2 separate regions of the Homo sapiens genome follow, and region 2 is linked to region 1. Evidence: promoter capture Hi-C in human tissues and cell types (Jung and others, 2019). All regions are on one chromosome and are shown on one strand. The core of a region is centred on a gene start or on the middle of the fragment in contact, and the rest is flanking DNA. Distances in the headings are between cores, read along the strand shown.

Region 1 (3,719 bases), core at 1,220-3,719:
TTGTTTTCTTCCTTGTGGAACTCTGGTGTTCATGCTACTTTGTTCACCGGTGGGGCTGGCTGTTGCTAGCAAAGAGGCTCTTCACAGAAGTGGCTGAACCCAAAGTTCTGGTTGGGAAAGGCCTTTGTGGCAGCTCCTATCAAGCGCAAGTGCGAGGCCACCCCCTCCTCGTGGGCTCTGGGGTCGATTTTGTTAGGGTTTGACATGAGTGGCTGCATTTGGGTACTCACAGATTTCACAAAGGAAGGGTAAACTGGAGATTTTTGGCCGGGCACGGTGGCTCATGACTATAATTTCAGCACTGTGGGAGGCTGGTGGGCAGATACTTTAGGTCAGGAGTTCAAGACCAGCCTGGCCAACATGGCAAAATCCTGTCGCTACTAAAAATACAAAAGTTAGCCAGGTGTGGTGGCGCACGCCTATAATCCCAGCTACTCGGGAGGCTGAGGCAGGAGAATCACTTGTACCCAGGAGGCGGAGGCTGCAGTTACCCAAAATTGTGCCACTGCACTCCAGCCTGGGTGACACAGCGAGACTTTTTCTCAAAACAGAAAAAAACGTGCTGTGGCTCACGCCTGTAATCCCAACCCTTTGGGAGGCCAAGGCAGGCAGATCACAAGGTCATGAGATCAAGACCATCCTGGCTAATACAGTGAAACCCCATCTCAACTAAAAACACAAAAAAATTAGCCGGGCGTAGTGGTGGACGCCTGTAGTCCCAGCTACTCGGGAGGCTGAGGCTCGCAGGATAATGGCGTTGAACCCGGGAGGTGGGGCTTGCAGTGAGCCGAGATTGCGCCACTGCACTCCAGCCTGGGCGACAGAGCAAGACTCCGTCTCAAAAAAAAATAAAAATAAAAAAATAGGGAGATTTCCCCAGTTACCAAGAACTCAGGAAGCAACATTAAGAGCTTGGGGGAGGCCAGGCGCGGTGGCTCACGCCTGTAATCCCAGCACTTTGGGAGGCAGAGGCAGGCTGATCACGAGGTCAGGAGATTGAGACCATCCTGGCTAACACGGTAAAACCCCGTCTCTACCCAAAATAAAAAAAAAATTAGCCGGGCATGGTGGCAGGCGCCTGTAGTCACAGGTACTCAGGAGCCTAATGCGGGCGAATGGAGTGGAGGCGGGAGAATGGCGTGAACCCGGGTGGCGGAGCTTCCAGTGACCCGAGATCGCGCCACTGCACTCCAGCCTGGGCAACAGAGCGAGACTCCGTCTCAAAAAAATAAAAATAAAAAAAGAGCTTGGGTACACAAAGCAAGCAGCATTTCATTCCGGGATGAAAAAAATTCCGATACCCATCGCCCTTCTTGGGCCCTTGTCAGTTTCTTGCCACATCTTTCATTTTCCCATTTCAGGCCCAGTAAATGCGGATGTTTATCTTCCATTGTTTGTTTCCTGAGATTCAGATGTCTAAAGCATTTTTCTGTGACTTTTCAAGTCAAGAGGAAAACCTGACATATGGAAAGGGAATTAATTGCTCGTTTTATCCTCTTCTCCTGCAATGCTCTGAATCCATGGGTTTGGAGTGGGGCCCTGGGAGTTGGGGGAAGCACCATACCCAGTGAGTCTGCACTTTGAGGACCCACTGCCAGTGTCAGCTTCAAAATCACATTGTAAAAGGCCGGGCGCGGTGGCTCACGCCTGTAATCCCAGCACTTTAGGAGGACGAAGCGGGCGGATCACTTGAGGTCAGGAGTTCGAGACCAGCCTGGCCAATATGGCGAAACCTCGTCTCTACCAAAAATATAAAAATTAGCCGGGCGTGGTGGCGCGGGCCTGTGGTTCCAGCTACTCGGGAGGCTGAGGCAGGAAAATTCCTTGAACCCGGGAGGAGGCTGCAGTGAGCCAAGACCACGCCACTGCACTCCAACCTGGGCGGCAGAGCAAGGCTCCGACTCAAAAGTAAATACATGAATAAATAAAATAAAATCACATCGTAAGAGCTCTCCCTGCCCTGTTTCTGAGTAAGGTTCAGAGTTAAATTCCGAGATCGGCCTTTACAAGACACACAGACCTGAGGCGCCTCACGAGGTAACCAGCAGGTAAATGGAGCGCGCTCCACCCACCCGCCACTAGGGGTCCCAGCGGTCAAGGGGGTGGAATGCGGGCGTCCATCGCGAAGGCATTCTGCTCGCAAGCCTTGGCACAGGCGCGGGCTTCGCTACCGGAAAAGTCCCGGTAGGATTCCGGAAGCCGGCCACGCGTTCCGCGCAGGCGCAAACTGCTCCAAAAGTGGGCGTCGCTCCTCCGGAGTCCCGATTCCTGCGTCACAGCCCGCGCCGAAGTCGGAAGTGCGCTCACCGGGCTGTTTCTTCTGGCGTCCTGGACCTGAGCAAGCGCTGTTTTATGCGTTATCATCCCGCGCAGACACAGGAAGTGCCGCACAGAGCGAGCCCCTGTCGTTGTCTCGAGTTCTGGGCCGGAGGTCGGCTATTATATCATCATTACGCGCCAATACAGGAAGTGACGATACTTTTGGCGCGCGCCGGTTGCTGTTTCTTCTCTGGCTCCGGGACCGGCGGCGGCGGCGGCGGCAGCGGCGGCGGCGTAGGGGTGAGTTCCGACTGGGCGGACCAGGTGTGGGAGCGCGAGGAGAACTGCGCACCGAGGTCTTTCTTCCGAGCAGGCCTCGGAGCGGGGCGGACCCGGGCCCGGGGGCGAGCGACACCCTCGCTTCCGCGGACAGTCTCATCCCGCACGGAACTTTGGGTGGTGGAGGCGGCGGGTCCAAACGCTGTCTGGAGCCAACGTCTGCCAGGCTGAACCTCAAGTGTGCGGGACTGAACCCGAGGAAATAGCCCAGTGCCCGGGTCAGGTGGCCTTGTTCGCGAGCACATCTCGGAGCATCTCCCCGGTCTCAAGGTGCAGCTGTCCAGTGTGCTAGTGGCTTCACGTAGTCCAAGCGGTCTTTCTAGCAGATTCTGACAGTAAAAGCAGTGTTTGATGAGTGGCAGGTCCTGAGTTAAGAGCCTTTAAACGGATGATCTTTAATCCGCGATCGATACTATCACGTAGGTGTTGTTATTCTGGTTGTACGGAAGACTAAACTGAGGTGAATTACGTTACCCAAGACCATACAAGAATGACAGAAACGAGACTTGATTTCAAGCGGTCATTTTTCAGAACCCATCACTCTTTTTTGTCGCCCATGCTGCAGCGCAGTGGCTGTTCACAAGCGCACTTCAGCCTGGAACTCCTGGGCTCAATCGGTCTCCCATCTCAGCTTGCAGAGTATATGGGACTACAGGCGCTCGCCACCTTGCCTGGCTTACAACTTATCATTCTTGTTTTTTTTTCTTTTTTTTTTGAGACGGGGTCTTGCTGGAGTGCAGTGACGCGACCTCGGCTCACCGGAACCTCCGCCTTTCGGATTCAAGCGATTCTGCTGCCTCGGCCTCCCGAGTAGCTGGGATTACAGGCACCCGCCACCACGCCCAGCTAAGTTTTGTATTTTTAGTGGAGACAGGGTTTTCGCCGTGTTGGCCAGGCTGGTCTTGACCTCCTGACCTTGTGATCCACCCGCCTCAGCCTAGAGCTTACTTTTTTTTTTTTTTTTTTTTTTTTAACCAAGTCTTACTTTGTTATCTAGGCTGGAGTGCAGTGGCGCAGTCTTGGCTCATTGCAGCCTTGACCTCTCTGATTCAAGTGATCCTCCTGCCTCTAGCAGCCTCCTTCCTGTAGCTAGGAATACAGGCACGCGCCACCACACTGGG
Region 2 (3,719 bases), core at 801-3,300, 230 kb before region 1:
AAAACCTCTGTAAATCCTTTTGATGCCCAATGACTTTGATTTCAAAGCTAGTATCATCTAGGTAGATTTATGTTGATCACTTGAGAAACAGAATTTGAAAAGTTAATTTATTTCTCAAAGGAGATGTTGTACTATCCTGCAAAAGTACCAGAGCTTTGTTCTCTTCCCTTTGCTTTGCTAAAAATTTCTGGGTCTTTTGGTTTATTTTATGTGTGTGTTGGTCCACTGGAAAAGTTGTAGCTTTGTAGCTAAAAACAGCTTTGATAAAAGGATGAAAAAGGTCTTCAGGGCATCTCTAGACTTCATCTACCATCAGTTGACTTTTTGTAGCTAATACTTTAATGAATAACATTGGTATTATTTTAGAAGTGCAGTGTTGGCATTTATTATAGTTTTGTCGTTGTTTTTCTCTGCCCGAAAGATTTGGCTCATGTTGGTCTCTAAATTGGATTACATTCTTACTGTCTGTGACTTTGGCTTTAGCATTAGTGGATTGGTAATAGATATTCTCAATTTTTAAATCTGGCTTGACCATATGGCAGGCCATGTTATTTTGAAACCCCTATTTAGTGTAAGTCTCACAAGACATGGAACAAAAATTTTTATAAAATTTTAAACTGGTTTGACCGGGCGTGGTGGCTCACACCTGTAATCCCAGCACTTTGGGAGGCCGAGTCAGGCGGATCATGAGGTCAGGAGATCGAGACCACCCTGGCTAACACGGTGAAACCCCTTCTCTACTAAAATTACTTCTCTACAAAAAATTAGCTGGGCGTGGTGCTGGGCACCTGTAATCCCAGCTACTCAGGAGGCTGAGGCAGGAGAATGGCAGGAACCCGGGAGGGGGAGCTTGCAGTGAGCCAAGATCGGCCACTGCACTCCAGCCTGGGCGACACAGCGAGACTCCGTCTCAAAAAATAAAAATAAAAAAAATTTTAAACTGGTTTACATTCTGATTTCAGGTTTGCATTTGTTAAGAGTGGTTGGAGAGATTATGAAGTAGGCAATTCAGTTAAGTGTTTGGTTTAGGAACACAGAATGAGGAGATAAAATAAATTTAAAATGGAAACTATCAGAAATTTATGAAACTGCAGTGTTCAACATTACTGAAAGAAAAAGCAGGGCCAACGTATATGGGAGTGAGTGTGTATGAAGAGAGAGAAATGCAACATCACATCAGCTGCTCTGGGAGAGGGACAGAGCACCACCTATTTCAAAGCTATGCATTTTGTTCTAGAACTTTGATTGAAGAAATAGAGACAATCTATAGACATTTGAGTTTGCTAGTGGATTAGTGGAATGCTGAAAGCTTTTTTTGTGAGACAGAGTCCCACTCAGCCACCCAGTCTGGAGTGCAGTGGCGCAATCTCGGCTCACTGCAACCACCATCTCACGGGTTCAAGTGATTCTCCAGTCTCAGCCTCCCGAGTAGCTGGGATTACAGGCACCCGCCGTCATGCCCGGATAATTTTTTAAAATTTTATTTTAGTAGAGATGGGGTTTCACCATGTTGGCCAGGCTGGTCTTGAACTCCTGACCTCCGGTGATCTGCCTGTCTGAGCCTCCCAAAGTTCTAGGATTACAGGCGTGAGCCACCGTGCCCTGCCGGAATGCTGAAAGCTTTTTTAAACCTTTTAGCCTCTTGTTCTTGTGTCAGTGCCTACCATTGGGTGCCATGGTAATCAGTGGAAATTACTCCTGGCTTTCAGTGGTAGAAAAGCTTTCTGTTTTATAGAGCAATGTTGCTTGCTTGCTTTTTTTTTTTTTTAAGATTAAGTGGGCCGGGCACGGTGGCTCACGCCTGTAATCCCAGCACTTTGGGAGGCCGACGTGGGCGGATCACGAGGTCAGGAGATTGAGACCATCCTGGCTAACACGGTGAAACCCCATTGCTACTAAAAATACCAAAAAAATTAGCTGGGTGTGGTGGCGGGCGCCTGTAGTCCCAGCTACTTGGGAGGCTGAGGCAGGAGAATGGCGTGAACCCGGGAGGCGGAGCTTGCAGTGAGCCGAGATCGTGCTACTGCACTCCAGCCTGGGTGACTGAGCGAGACTCCGTTTCACAAAAAAAAAAAAAAAAAAAAAGATTAAGTGGAAGTATTTCCTTATTTATGTCTTCTTAAATTAGAATTCTGAGAAAGACCCATTTTTTAAAAGCTTACTGATTTAAAAGACCAGATTAAGATTATCTAAGGTAATTCCTTTTTTCTTTCTTTTTTTTTTGAGATGGAGTTTCCTTCCTGTTGCCCAGGCTGGAGTGCAATGGCGCTGTCCTGGCTCACTGCAACTTCTGCCTCCCGGGTTCAAGTGATTCTCCTGCCTCAGCCTCCCAAGTAGCTGAGATTACAGGTGCCCGCCACCATGCCTGGCTAATTTTTGTAGTTTTAGTAGAGATGGGGTTTCACCATGTTGGCCAGGCTGGTCTCAAACTGCTGACCTCAAGTGATCCGCCCGCCTCCGCCTCCCAAAGTGCTGGGATTACAGGTGTGAGCCACCGTGCCCAGCTTAATTTTTAAGTTTATTCTGTTGAACCTATTTTGCCATAGATAAAATATTTTTATGATTTAATAATTCATTGCTCCAAACTTACTAATGCATTATATCAAGAGAGGACTTTATGTATTAATTCATTCACCTGTTAGAATTGGAATACTGGCCGGGCACGGTGGCTCATGCCTGTAATCCCAGCACTTTGGGAGGCCCAGGCGGGCAGATCACGATGTCAGGAGATCGAGACCAACCTGGCTAACACAGTGAAACCCTGTCTCTGCTAAAAATACAAAAAAATTAGCCGGGCGTGGTGGCAGGCACCTGTAGTCCCAGCTACTTGGGAGGCTGAGGCAGGAGAATGGTGTGAACCCGGGAGGCAGACCTCGCAGTGAGTGGAGATCGCGCCACTGCACTCCAGCCTGGGCGACAGAGCAAGACTCCGTCTCTCAAAAAAAAAAAAAGAATGGGAATACTAAGGGCATCAGTGGAATGTATTCTTGTTTACTGGTGGGTAATCATGTCTCCATGCATGTCTGTGTGCAGTCCTGTAGCACTTAGAAAATATATTCCCTATGTTGATTACAGACACTCAACTTCTGCCGAGTGTTGTAGTTAATAAAGCTTAAAAAATTCTGGGCTGGGTGTGGTGGCTCATGCCTGTAAACCCAACACTTTGGGAGGCCAAGGTGAGCGGATCACCTGAGGTTGGGAGTTCAAGACCAGCCTGACCAACATGGAGAAACCCTGTCTCTACTGAAAATACAAAATTAGCCCAGACGCGGTGGCTCACGCCTGTAATTCCAGCACTTTGGGAGGCCGAGGAGGGTGGATCAGCCTGGCCAACATGGAGAAACCCCATCTCTACTAAAAATACAAAAAATTACCCAGGCATGGTGATGCATGCCTGTAATTCCAGCTACTCGGGAGGCTGAGGTTGCAGTGAGCCGAGATCGTGCCATTGCACTCCAGCCTGGGCAACAAGAAGGAAACTCCATCTCAAAAAAAAAAAAAAAATTAGTCGGGCATGGTGGCACATGCCTGTAATCTCAGCTACTCGGGAGGCAGAGGCAAGAGAATCGCTTGAACCTGGGAGGCGGAGGTTGCGGTGAGCCGAGATTGTGCCATTGTACTGCAGCCTGGGCAACAAGAGTGAAACTCGGTCAAAAAAAAAAAAAAAAAGTCCGGACACTTTATAATTAGATGAGCATGTCAAAAGAGTCTACAATAGG

The links. The method cuts DNA at HindIII sites, captures the fragments that hold promoters and counts their contacts. A contact is called where the count stands out against the background at its distance.
Region 2: a fragment that was not itself captured here is called in contact with the fragment with the promoter of CDK11B in region 1 in 7 of the 25 tissues and cell types used here (adrenal gland, aorta, dorsolateral prefrontal cortex and 4 more).

What each region holds. Positions count from the first base shown.
Region 1 is chr1:1,657,754-1,661,472 of GRCh38, reverse strand. CDK11B (cyclin dependent kinase 11B) reads left to right here and starts at 2,469. Exons shown (of 20, transcript NM_033486.3): 1 at 2,469-2,559. RefSeq lists enhancers at 2,083-2,362, 2,383-2,472, 1,904-2,626. The HindIII fragment of the contact is 36,520 bases long and covers 1-3,719 here.
Region 2 is chr1:1,883,918-1,887,636 of GRCh38, reverse strand. The region is part of intron 1 of GNB1 (G protein subunit beta 1); the gene reads left to right. Among named protein-coding and RNA genes, the nearest start is that of GNB1, 5.3 kb to the left of the region's middle. The HindIII fragment of the contact is 4,669 bases long and covers 1-3,719 here.